Linked DNA regions of Homo sapiens: all the other regions are linked to region 2. The links are contacts of gene promoters, found by promoter capture Hi-C in blood cells and fetal thymus (Javierre and others, 2016). All regions are on one chromosome and are shown on one strand. Each heading gives the region's core, a stretch centred on a gene start or on the middle of the fragment in contact. The rest is flanking DNA. Distances are from core to core; before and after follow the strand shown. Region 1 holds the start of ELFN2 (extracellular leucine rich repeat and fibronectin type III domain containing 2). Region 2 holds the start of KCTD17 (potassium channel tetramerization domain containing 17). Region 3 holds the start of MFNG (MFNG O-fucosylpeptide 3-beta-N-acetylglucosaminyltransferase).

Evidence for each region. The method cuts DNA at HindIII sites, captures the fragments that hold promoters and counts their contacts. A CHiCAGO score of 5 or more calls a contact.
Region 1: the fragment with the promoter of ELFN2 here is called in contact with the fragment with the promoter of KCTD17 in region 2 in 4 of 17 cell types (activated CD4 T cells, naive CD8 T cells, non-activated CD4 T cells and 1 more); the score reaches 5.9 in activated CD4 T cells.
Region 3: a contact is called between the fragment with the promoter of MFNG here and the fragment with the promoter of KCTD17 in region 2, in 1 of 17 cell types (activated CD4 T cells). The highest score is 5.3, in activated CD4 T cells.

What each region holds. Positions count from the first base shown.
Region 1 is chr22:37,425,471-37,429,125 of GRCh38, reverse strand. ELFN2 (extracellular leucine rich repeat and fibronectin type III domain containing 2) reads left to right here and starts at 1,647. Exons shown (of 3, transcript NM_052906.5): 1 at 1,647-1,828. The HindIII fragment of the contact is 18,273 bases long and covers 1-3,655 here.
Region 2 is chr22:37,049,744-37,054,020 of GRCh38, reverse strand. It overlaps KCTD17 (potassium channel tetramerization domain containing 17), which reads right to left and starts at 2,279. Exons shown (of 9, transcript NM_001282684.2): 1 at 2,072-2,279; 2 at 813-921. The coding sequence starts at 2,260. RefSeq lists enhancers at 677-1,393, 1,394-2,111 and silencers at 2,048-2,167, 2,178-2,487. The HindIII fragment of the contact is 2,809 bases long and covers 619-3,427 here.
Region 3 is chr22:37,484,482-37,488,454 of GRCh38, reverse strand. MFNG (MFNG O-fucosylpeptide 3-beta-N-acetylglucosaminyltransferase) reads left to right here and starts at 2,071. Exons shown (of 8, transcript NM_002405.4): 1 at 2,071-2,532. The coding sequence starts at 2,278. RefSeq lists enhancers at 669-1,178, 1,179-1,690, 1,691-2,200, 2,677-2,726, 3,127-3,186 and 2 more and a silencer at 1,977-2,106. The HindIII fragment of the contact is 3,313 bases long and covers 1,690-3,973 here.

The DNA of each region.
Region 1 (3,655 bases), core at 398-2,897, 380 kb before region 2:
TCTTGGAGCTGGGACCCTGCTTCTTGCCCAGCCTTGTCAGGGATACACACCATGTGTTGGATACCGCCCCTGCCCTGTAGGAGGGCTCAGTTTAGAGGGCAGAGACAGCACATGGCTTGTTTGGGTTTGCAGCGAGGGACCTTGAAGGATGGGTAGGAGTGTGCCAGGCAGCCTGGGGTGCAGGTGGGGAACGCCCAATAGTCCTTCTGCATACCCCAGGACAACAAGTGGCCTGTGACCCAGTGCTTGTCTGCCCTCCCAGCCCCATCCTGGGCCGTTCCCTGTTCTTAGTTGAAAGGAGGGAGGAATTTCTGGACAGACGTTCTTTCTGCTCTACTAATACCCAACTCCGTGGAGTTCCCTGTACACACATACAAAGCTGTTTCATGCCTCTGTGCCTCTTTGCACATGCTGTTCCCAGAGTCCAGGACACCCTTCTCCTCCTTCTTTAGCTGGCCAACTCCTACTCATCCATCAAGATTCAGCTCAGGCAGTGGCTTCTTCTGGGGAGTCTCCTTATTCCAGACCTGCATGAGATGTCCCGACGGGGAGTTCCCGCAGCCTGGACTTCATCTGCTGTGCAACACCTGAGAACAGGCGCTGGTGCATGCGGTCCTATAAAAGTGATGGAGAAGTACAGGGCCTGCTGGCAGCAGGCCTCCGACATGCAGCTCGCAGGGCCTCGGGAGGAGGTGCTTGCATGCCCAAGCACCAAGTTATAGGCCCCGGGTGCCAGGCTTCTTGCATCTTCCACCTCCTCCTCCTCCTCCCAGCATCCACCCCTTTGCAGGTGGCAGCAGGTGGCAGGGGCTTTGGCGTAAGGGGCGGGGAACTGGGCCTCTGGAAGGCTAATGAAGGTTCTCTAGCTACAGATGAGCCCAGTATCCCTTGGACCTACTCCTGGAGGGGTGGGGAAAGGCAGTGAGTGCCCTGGCACAAGGTAGGGGAGCGTAAAGTCTAATACTGTCTGTAGGCTCCCTGTGTAACCTTGGGGGAATCACTCCTCTCCGAACCTCAGTTGTCTGGCCTGTAAAATGGGAACGCAGCAGCCGCACTTCCCCAGTCGCCAGCGGTTGAACGCGGGACCAACCAGCAGGGCGCAGGCGGCAGGGCATGGAGGTACAAGGCGGAGAGGGGGCCCATCAGCGGAGGCGGAGTCCAGGGGGAGGGCGAGTCCAGGCGCACTTCGGGCGGCCCCGCCGCAAGTTTGCCCCCAGCTGTTGAATGCGCTGGCGGAGGCCGGACCCGGACCCGGACCCGGATCCCGCGGGGTGAGCAGCGCAGGGGGCCGCGGCCGGGACAGGGGTCCGCCAGGCCGGGGCTCGGGTCCGTGGGGCCGCCTTCGCCTCCCCGGGCGCTGCAGCTGCAGCGGCGGCGCCAGGCGCGGCCCCAGCCCCGCGGGCGTGTGTCTGCGAGCGCGCGTGTGTCCGTGGAGCGTGCGGCCGGCTCGGGGGCGGGAGCGGGCTTGCTGCGGAAAGGCCTGCGGAGGGCACCGGGAGCGGGCGGGCTGGCGGACGGACAGACGGGGACGGACAGACGGACACAGCCTGCCGCGGTCCCTGACGCGCGCCGCTTGGCCCCTCCCGGGCGCCCTCCCCGCCGAGGCAGGGGCAGAGGCGCGGCGGCGGGGAGGAGGGGGCGGCGGCGTCTGCGCGCACACGCGCGCTCCCAGACACACACACAGACACACGCGGGCCACCCCACGGCCACGCACCCCGCACCCACACCCGCGCTCACACTCACATTCACACTCACACTCACACGCGCAGGCCCCGCGGCCGCCGCTTCCCGGAGGCGGTGCTTGGCCCGGATCCCGGCTGGGGCTGGGGTAAGTGAATTCCTCTGGATCCGAGCGCCGCGACCGACCGACCGGGGAGACGGTGGGAGTCGGGGCTGGAGCCGGAGGGCACCCCCTCCGTCAGTGGGGGTGGGGCTTGGAGAGGGACACGGAAGGGGGGATGAGACGGGGAGAGCCACCCCCAGTGTCTCCTGGGTCTGGGGATCCCCGTGAGACCCCCGGGGGACCACCCTGCGCGAGGGAGGTGGTGGTGGTGGCGGTGGGCGGAGGCGGTGGGAGGACACCGAGGACGGTCGGTGAGGTGAGCGTTTCTGGGGGTGGTGCAGAGGCTCGATGGTGGACGGTGTGCCAGCCGGTGCCACACTGCACCTCTCTGCCCTCATCTTTTCGAATCGGGGGCCCTAACCCCTCTCTTTCACGGGGTGCTGCCGGGTCAAGGCATTCATCCTCTAGCTGGTAAGAGGGGTTGACGGGGTGGATGCCTTCTAGGGGAAGGGGGGCCAGGGTGGGGCTTGACGGCGGTGGGGTTGGTAAGACCAGAATTGGGGGGTGGGGACCCTTTCAGAGGCGCTGGCCAGGGACAAGGAGGGAGGCAGCCCAGGGAGGCGGCATAAATCGCAGACACTGCAGCTCTGGCAGGGCCGGGGCCACTGCCGGGTGTGTGTGTGTGTGTGTGTTTGTGTGTGTGTGCGAGCGCGTGCCAGTGTGTGTGTGTGCGTGCGTGTGTGGGCTCCAGCAGCTGTCAGGGGACGGGGAGGGGGTGGGTGTGTTGGCTGGTGGGGCGCCGTGTGCATGTGGAGAGGATTGTGCGTGCTGTGTGTGTGTGGTGTGTGCGTGTGTGTGTGGACATGGGGTGGACCCTGCTCTCTGTCTGTATACACACAAGCGCACACACGCACACTGTCAGTGGCCTGGCAGGATTTCCTCGGAATGTTTGGAGGGAAGGGAGCTGATGTGTGTGTGTGTGTGTGCGCGCGCGCGCGTGTGCATGCACACTCGGGGAGCTTGTGTCCAAAACAGAGGCCACAGGCCATGGTGTGTCAGGCGTGCCCAAGGAGGGAGACGAGAAGGGGACAGTGGTGCTGACCGTGCACTCAGCTGGGGAGGAACGTGGTACTCGGCACTTTCTGCAGCTCAGGGCTCTGTGCTGTGCCCCTTCCCCCTGGACTCCTCCCACCCAGCAGCTGCGGCTGGAGGGCACTGCCTTGGTCCCTTGCTGAGACGCAGGTGTTGGGCTGGAGTGTGTGTGTGTGTCTGGGCTGCGGCTGTCGCTATCAGCAGGCCAGGCTGTCGGAGTCAGAAAGCTGGAGGGAGTGGGGTGCTGGCAGCACCTGGAGGAATGTGGTGGAAGCTGTGGGGCGCGGACTGCCCGGCGCGGTTACCGAGAGGCGTTTTAATATGCAAGTTGCATCATGAGATGGGACTGGGAGTGTGTGTGTGTGTGTGTGTGTGTGTGTATGTGTATGTGCATGGCTGACACCCCTGTTCTCGTGGCCCGTGGACACCTGTGGGACGTGTCACGTCTGGGCCATCAGCAAAGCATGTGGGCATGTGTGTCCCCTGAGAGGGGTGCACAGGCAGGTGCTGTCCTGATGAGCCGGGGGCCCTGCAACTGTGTGGGTGGGGAGGTGGGTACCTCTGGGCCATCAACGCCTAGGCAGGAAGAAAGAGTGTTAATTGTGGGGACATCAGGAAAAAGTATGTATGTGAGGTCAGTGAGAACCTCAGGTGTGACATAAGCTCCAGGCCGCAGGTGACGTCACTGGGACAGTTTTGTCGGAGGTTGCTCCCCCCAGCCAGAGTGTGTAAATGTGATGTCACGGGAGTGTGTGTGGCCGAGTGTGGTTATGTCTCTTG
Region 2 (4,277 bases), core at 1,030-3,529:
AGATCACCGCCCCCATTGAATAGATACCAGTGGAGACGCAGTGAGGAGAAGTGACATATTCAAGCTGGTCTGGCTGGATCAGCTGACCCAGAGCCACACCCTGTGTCCCAAAGAAGAGTTAACTTGGCACTGACTGTAGTCCTTGCCCCTGGCTGCAGCTCTGCTAACAGGTCGTTCTCCCAGACATGGCCTCCCCACTGTTTGTTAGGCCCGGATATGGGCATATCCAGGGCCTCGGCCACCTAGGCCTGGGGATAACCAAAGCCCCACTGGGAAGCAGACTCCCCCCTCTCCTGCCTCCACCCACAGCCAGCACTGTGCCGCACAGGCTGCCAGACTTAGTGAACAGTCACCCGCTCCACCCACTTACAAGCCCTCACCAGGCAGAATTTGAGATACTGGATCAGCCAGAGAAAGAGAGACAGAGCTCTCCCCATGCCTGTCAACACTGCATTCCTGTCACCCCAGCCTCCGGATGTGACCGTCCACACCTGGCTTCCTAGGAGGCCAGAGAGAAAGGGCGTCACAGCCCACAGCAGAGGCCACAGGGCCTCGCTGACTTCCTCTATCCCCTGCACATGTGTCTCTTCACCTCCCTGACAGTACCCAGGGAAAGCTTGAGCCCGTCCGCTTGGCAGAGCCCCAGGCTCGGCACAGGCAGATGCTTGGGAATCAGCCCCGTCCGACTGGGAAGAGGCAGGAAACAACCAAGCAGGCAGATGGCCGTCCTGGTTGTCCAAATGGCTTGGGGCCTCCACAGAGGGCCCTGGCAGGCTGCATAAGGTCCAGGCCAGCCCCCTGGACCAACTCACCCTCCTCAGCCATGTCCTTGTCCAGCACCAGCTTGCCATGCCGGAGGAAGTTCAGGATGGGCCCGAAGTAGGTGGGGTCACGGTCAATGAGGTAGGCCCCGGTCTCATCCTATGGAGGTGAGGGATGCTCGGTGAGAGAAGAGTGAGGCTTCTCCCCAGCCAACCCCGCACACGCACAGGGAGGGAAGGAGAGTGGAGGGAGAGCTCTTCCCTGGATGGAGCAGGCACAAAGTAGCAAAAAGGCACTGGGGTCAGATGGACCTGAGTTCAAGCCCTGCTTCTGACTCTTCCTGAATGTGTGACCTTAGGCTAATGATTTGGCCTCTTTGAAACTCACTCCTCTCCCCCTAATCAGGGTTTGCTGTGAGCATCCGGTGAGAGGATGTCTGAGTGGCAACTGGCCCAGCACAGGGCTCGAAGAATGTCCCTCTGAGAGGCTGTCCCCTGAAGCCAGCCCCACTGTCGCCCCCAGGTCCCTAGGCTTTCAGGGGATGTTTACAAGTTTCCAAAGGAGTCACTATCTCACTGGACACTCGGGCGGGCAGGGAGGCAGGGTGGGCTTCCATGCGACTCTACAGAGAGATCGGAGACATTGAGAGGTGAGGCGACTTGCCAAAGGCCACAGCATCGGAGGGTCACGGATGGGGGACAGGAGACCTTAGAGGTCATCTTCAGACCAGCCCTTCGTGTTACAGATGAGGAAGGAGGCTGAGCGCAGTGCAGGGAAGGGTCCGACTCAAGGTCGCGGCAGGCAGTGTGCAGCAGAGTCAGGGTGGGTGCTCAGAAATAGTGCCCGCTGGGCCAACGCTCCTTCTAGATTCAGCCCGCTCAGAAGGCGCCCCAGGGCTCCTCCATCCAGCTAGCTCCCTGCACCCCTCCGCCACCCACATCCCAAAGAGCGGGAGAAGTAGCCTCGTCGACTCCTTCCCCAGAGCAGGAGTCCCCTTTGGGAGGGAGGAAAGGTCCCAGGTCTCTCCCTGTCCACAGCCCCAAAGGAGAAGGAGAGGCCCCGATCCGGGGCGGCTGGAGAGCTTCTAATGGCCGCGGCCTGCGTCGTCCCGTTGCCACGGCAATGGGTACATCCCTCACTACCAGACCCACCTCCCCCTCCCCTCCTCCTGCCGCTTCTTCCCGCCTCCAGTTCCTCGGAAATGAACCCGGCCGGGTCCCCAGCCTGGCGGGCGAGCCAGGCCCGACAGCCCCGCGTCGGGCGAGCGGAGGACCCACCGCCCGCTCGCCGCCCACCCCGGGGGCCTCACCCGGTCCGACTGCAGCTCTTCCCCCTGGCACAGGCGGCTGAGGAAGGACTTCTGCTCGCGGCACAGCGTCTGCCGGGTGGTCAGGAACACCGTGCCCCCCACGTTGAGCCGCACCCACTTGCCCCAGCCGCCTGCGGCGCGGCCGCCCGCCCCCGCCGGCGGCGCTGCCTCCCCGGCCTCCATCCTCATCGCCGGCCGCGGCGTCTGCATCCTCCTCCCGGGCGCTGGGGGCGGGCGGGGACCGCACGCGGGGCAGGCCGGGAGCTGTAGTCCGCGCCTCCTGGCTCCGCGTGGGCCGCGGGTAGGGTCCCGCCCCGCGCTGCTCCCGCCCCCGGTCCCGCCCCGCTTCGCCCTTCCCCGCAGGCCCGCAGTCTGGGGTGGTGAAGATGCCCTCTGGCCAAATCACTGTGTATGGGGAAGGTCGAACTCCCGGCCTCTGGGAAAAGAATGAGGGCTTCCCCAAATCTGCAGTCATCCCATGGGTCCGAGCATTCTTGTTTTTCCTTTGTGCCGTCTCCGTCGTCCAACAGCTGATAAGGGAAGAAACTTTCCCCTCCAGGAATCCCCATAGCATTGACCCGCATGTGTTTCGTCATATTTTTTCATTTGCCCTTTGTGTGTATAGGGGTGGGGGCGGGGTGGGTGGGAGTGGGTTCTTTCCCTCACCTGAGTTCTTGGAGAACGACATAGCTGGACTTGAGGTTGGCTGAGCACCTGTATGCCAGACACTTTGTGTATATGTGTTATGAATTTAAGCTCTCAGCAGCCCTGTGAGTCTGGTATTTTGGGCTATACCCATTTTACAGATGAAGCCACAGAAGCGAAGTGACCGCCCTACTCACATTGCTGGTGAGTGAGTACCCACCAAGGTCTCTTTCCTGCTCCCTGACCATGGAATGTCAGGGATCCTTGGGAAAGACTTCTAAGGAGGAAGAGTAGAGCACGCCCTGGATCCGAGTCAGGAGAACTGAGTTTCCATTCTGGCTTTTGGCCTTTCTCAGTTTTTCCACGTCCTCCCTAAGAAGGAGGAGGGATTGGTTCTGCGGGTGGCTTTCTGAGTTATTCCCCAGTTAACTCGGAGGGGAACCGTCATTCTGTGGACCTCAGGATGGGGGAAGGGAGCAGTTCCTCATGTGGTCCGGGACCAGGGAGGGACAAGGGCTGACGAGGAAGCTGTCTCCTTAGCTTCCTCTCCTTACTGGTTTCAGTCCTGGTCCTGGCCTATGGGGGAGAGGTCTGGGGCTCCTCTCACTGATCCAATGTCACACGCAGCTGGCCCGAACACTGGGCAGCCTGGCCCTGTGCTGGGAGAAGTTTCCCTGTTACCACCCAATGCCCTGCTTTCTGCATAAAGCTTTTCTCCTTGGCAGGGAGTGGATCAAAGGTGTACTGGAATCCTGCTACTTAAAATTCACTAGGTGTGTCCTGAGCAACTTCCTCTCTGAGATTGGCTTTCTCTCTTGCCAAATGGGATTTACAACAGTTGTGACCCCAGAGCATTGCTGTGAAGATTAAGTTATGAAATGTCTATAAACATCTAGCGTAGGCTGGGTGCGGTGGCTCACACCTGTAATCCCAGCACTTTGGGAGGCCAAGGCTCGCTTGAGCATAGAAGTTCAAGACCAGCCTGGACAGCATAGTGAGACCCCTATCTCTCTCTCTCTCTCTCTCTCTCTCTCTCTCTCTCTCTTTTTCTTTTTTGAGATACAGTCTCACTCTCTCACCCAGACTGGAGTGCAGTGGCACCATCTCAGCTCACTGCAACCTCTGCCTTCTGGGTTCAAGCAATTCTCATGCCTCAGCCTCCTGAGTAGCTGGGATGACAGGCATGCACCACCACGCCTGGCTAATTTTTGTATTTTTAGTAGAGATAGGGTTTCACCACGTTGGCCAGGCTGGTTTTGAACTCCTGAGCTCAAGTGATCCTCCTACTTTGGCCTCCCAAAGTGCTGGGATTACAGGTGCGAGCCACTGCGCCTGGCCCCCATCTCTATTTTAAAAAAATAAAACGATAGAAAACCAAAAAACAGCCGGTGGCTCACGCCTGTAATCCTAGCATTTTGGGAGGCCGAGGCAGGCAGATCACAAGGTCAGGAGTTCGAGACCAGCCTGGCCAACATGGTGAAACCCCTTCTCTACTAAAAATACAAAAATTAGCCGGGCATGGTGGCTCACGCCTGTAGTTCCAGCTACTCAGGAAGCTAAG
Region 3 (3,973 bases), core at 822-3,321, 430 kb before region 2:
CCCCTGCCCCACAGTGAGCCTGGCCCAGTGCTTGGCCTGGGGAAAGGCAGGGGCCTGTGACTTGGCTGCCTTTGCCTGTTCCCCGTGTCAAGCATCCTTTCTGTGGGGTGGAGAAGCCCACTCATCCTGTAATCGTCACCAAGTCATATTTTTGTCCCCATTTTAGAAATGATGAAGGTAACTTTCCTAGAGTCATACAGCCAGTGAGTGGCCCAGTTGGGAATTTTTTTTTTTGAGATGGAGTTTCACTCTTGTTGCCTAGGCTGGAGTGCAATGGCGCCATCTCGGCTCACTGCAACCTCTGCCTCCCGGGTTCAAGTGATTCTCCTGCCTCAGCCTCCCTAGTAGCTGGGATTACAGGTGCCTGCCACAATGCCTAGCTAATTTTTGTATTTTTGGTAGAGACGGGGTTTCACCATGTTGGCCAGGCTGGTCTTGAACTCCTGACCTCAAGTGATCTGCCTGCCTTGGCCTCCCAAAGTGCTGGGAGTACAGGCGTGAGCCATGGCGCCCAGCCCCCAGTCAGGATTTAAACCTGGTCTGTGGGGTACAGAGTCTGGGATCATCACCAAGGCTGGCATCATCACCATTCTGAGAATATGGCCTGTGAAGGGGCCTGGCTGGGGGCTGGCCCATGAGAAGGTCATTCAAAGGGTTGGTTTTCCCTTCCTCTCCCCCAGCTGTCCTCATGCAGGGTTGAGCCCGGCAGGGCCACTTCCCTTTGCCAGCCACCTGGTACTTTGTTGTGTTGAATTAACATTGATTGAGTTCTTGTCTGCCGGTCACTGTTCTAGGCACTGGGGATTAGGGACTCAGTGATCAAAAAATAAATCCTGCCCTGATATTCTCATGAGGAGGACAGAAACTTAGTTAAACATACAGAATGTTGGAAGATGAAAAGTGTGATGAAGAAAACAGTGAAGTGGCTTGAGAGGGACAGGCCTGGGGGGCTGGGAAGGAGGCGGCGAGGGGTTGCAATGTTAATAACGTGGTCAGGGAAGGCCTCACAGAGACGGTGACCTTTGTGTAAAGACCAGAAGGGAGTGGGGGAGTGAGACGTGCAGGTCTCTAGGGAGGGGCCCAGGTGGGAACAGCAAGTGCCAAGGTCCTGTGGCGGCCAGGTGCCTGGGCCAGCGAGGGTCCCAGGTTCTGGAGTGGAGCAGGGTGAGTAGCAGGAGATGGGGTGGGAGTAACTTGGGAGCCAGCTCACGCAGGGCCTTGTGGGCTGCTGTGTGCGTTTTGGCTTTTGTTCTGAAGAAAATGGGAGCCAGTGCAGGCTCTGAGTGGAGGAGGGAGGAGGTGTGAGTGAGCTTGTGCGAAACAAGATGGAGGTGGTGGCTGGAGAAGGCCCTCTGTCTGTCCACTGGTCAGGTGCTGGGAGAGAGGCAGCTCCAGAGACTGCGGAGTGAGGTCGGGTATGGGCTGGGGCACAGCTGGACAGGTGCCCTCAGGGGACCTCCTGTGAACTAGATGAGGAACAGAGACCTGGGTTCTGCCAGCTCTGCGGCTGAGTTGCTGGATCGTTTTTGCTCATTCTGTGCCTTTGTGCCTTATGTCTTCAGCTATAAACTGGGAACGACAGTCCCAGTGCTGTTGTGAAGACCTCAGGAACTGAGCGAACAACTGTGGGAGCCCCAGAGGTTAAGAGGTTATCACGGAAGGCTTCCTGGAGGAGGGAACCCTTAAGCTTTGAAGTCCAGATAGAACTCAGCCTAGTGGAGGGAATGTGGGTGAGGCTGGTGGAATATGGGAGAGCATCCCGGAGGAAACCTGTGAGCAAAAGCTGGGGGCTGGGTGAAGCAGGACACCAAAGTAATGGGTGTTGAATGGGCCGAGCTGACAGCTCTCTGGGGGAGTGGACGGTGCTGGAGGACACTCCCTTCCACCGGGCACGGAGGGTTTGTTGTGACTTCCTCCCACCGCAGCAGCTGGCAGAGCCGGGGCTGCCCTTTCTGCTGGTGCCTCCTTTCAGCCGCCTCTGTCTGGGGTTCCCTTCGTCTGGCCCCGCCCCTCGGGCTAAGCGGGGCGGGGCCAGGCGGTCCCGGAGGCTGCGGCAGGCCGGACAGCGGGAGCAGGTGGAGGACTGGCGGCGGTCGAGATCGTGCTGCCATGGCTCAGCCTCTGGGTCCAGAGCCTCAGCTCCTACCTCTTCCCTCCTTGCCAGCCCCTGATGCCTGCCAGACTTTTGCCTCTGCTGGAGCCCCTGCCTGACCAGCTTCCCCTCCCTGTCTGGTTGGGATTTGGGGGCTGAGCTGTCTGGGGTCCCAGGGCCAACCAATGCAGTGCCGGCTCCCGCGGGGCCTGGCTGGAGCCCTCCTCACCCTCCTGTGCATGGGGCTCCTGTGTCTGCGGTACCACTTGAACCTGTCCCCGCAGCGGGTACAAGGGACCCCCGAGCTGAGCCAGCCGAACCCGGGGCCCCCTAAGCTACAGCTACACGATGTCTTCATTGCAGTGAAGACGACCCGGGCTTTCCACCGCTTGCGCCTGGAGCTGCTGCTTGACACGTGGGTTTCCAGGACCAGGGAACAGGTGACAAGTGGGTGACATTGGGCCCTGGGGGTGGCCCCTGGCCTAAGGGGTTCTCAGAGGCCTTTCTACTGGGCTGGGGTCCCTGACTGCCTCATGGGAGAAGCTGCTCAATACCTGCCTAATCAGGGATCCTCTTCCTCTCTCCTTCTTCCGGGCTTTAGGGGCTGCCTGCGGCCCTGCCCGTGCCCTGTACTGGTCCTGACTCCAGGTGCACCCAGGTCCTACCGCTCCACCACTTTTGGGGGCCAGGCTGGGCCCCTGCTCCAGGCTCCCGGGTCCCTCCTGGGGGTTCTTCTATTCCTAGCCGCTCCCGTGGGGGCTTCGCTCCTAGCCACCCAGGCCCAGCCTGGCATCAGGGGTAATGGTGGGTGTTGGGCAGCTGGGGTGGAGGCCTCCAAGAGGTCCTGACCCAGACCCGTGCCCAGGCCAGGCTGTCCCACCCAGGCCCTAGGTGCTGTCCTGCCCGGGCTCTGAGGGTGGAGGACGGGAGGAGAATGGTGGGGTCTGTTCTTGGGGGAGGCATCCCTTCGGCCTTCCCGATAGCCCCTGCCGCTGTGTCTCTGCTGCCCCGGGTGTGCCGAGGCCGCCATGTCTGGCCTCCTGTGTTGGCTTCCTGCGGACTGCTTCCGAGGGAGGGAAGGAGAGCGCATGCCACGAGGGTGGCGGCTGAGGCAGTGGTGGGCCGGAGGTTGGGGAGGCCTGCCTGGCACGTGGGATTGTGTGTGTGTGTGTGTGTGTGCTCACACGCACGGAGCTGGAGTGTGCTAGATGTGTGTGACAAGAGGCATGTCTGTCACATGGCTGTGCGGCTCCGGCGAGCCAAGTCCCTTCCAGCCCTTTCCCTCCTCGCATCCAGTATCTTCCTTAAGCAAAGTTAGTGATGTCGGTGTTAGGGACCGTTGATGGGGGAGGTGGAGAATGGGTACACACACACACACACACACACACACATCGGTCCCCTCTTTGGCGGCTGGCTCAGTGGGAGGAAGTGACTGAGTCTTTGGAGATAGTCGAGACCTCCTGGAAGACCAAAAGGAGGGGGAGAGGATGGCTGGCAGAGGCCAGGCCCTCCTGGGGAGGGGCACCCTGCCCTGATTTCTGCCCTCGTACTTGGGATTAACTCTTCCCCAGCTGGCCCCCAGCACCTCAGCTCTTCTCTGGGCCCCACACGGCTTCTCATCTTGGGGAGATCCTGGTTCTTCCTGCGGAAGCAGCCAAGGCGGGCCCTCCCGCAGGCCTTCCTGTTTATGCGTCTGTGTACCCGGGAGCGTGGCCTCACGTGGCCCACGGCCCTTTCCTGTCTTATCTCCATCACCGCGGTGGTGCCCTTGCCCCGGATGAGGAAACTGAGGCCAGAGAGAGGAAGTGCTGGCTGGCGTGGTGTCACGCAGAAGGCCTGAGGGGACAGAGCCCAGTGGGACCTAGAACCTTGCTCCTGGTT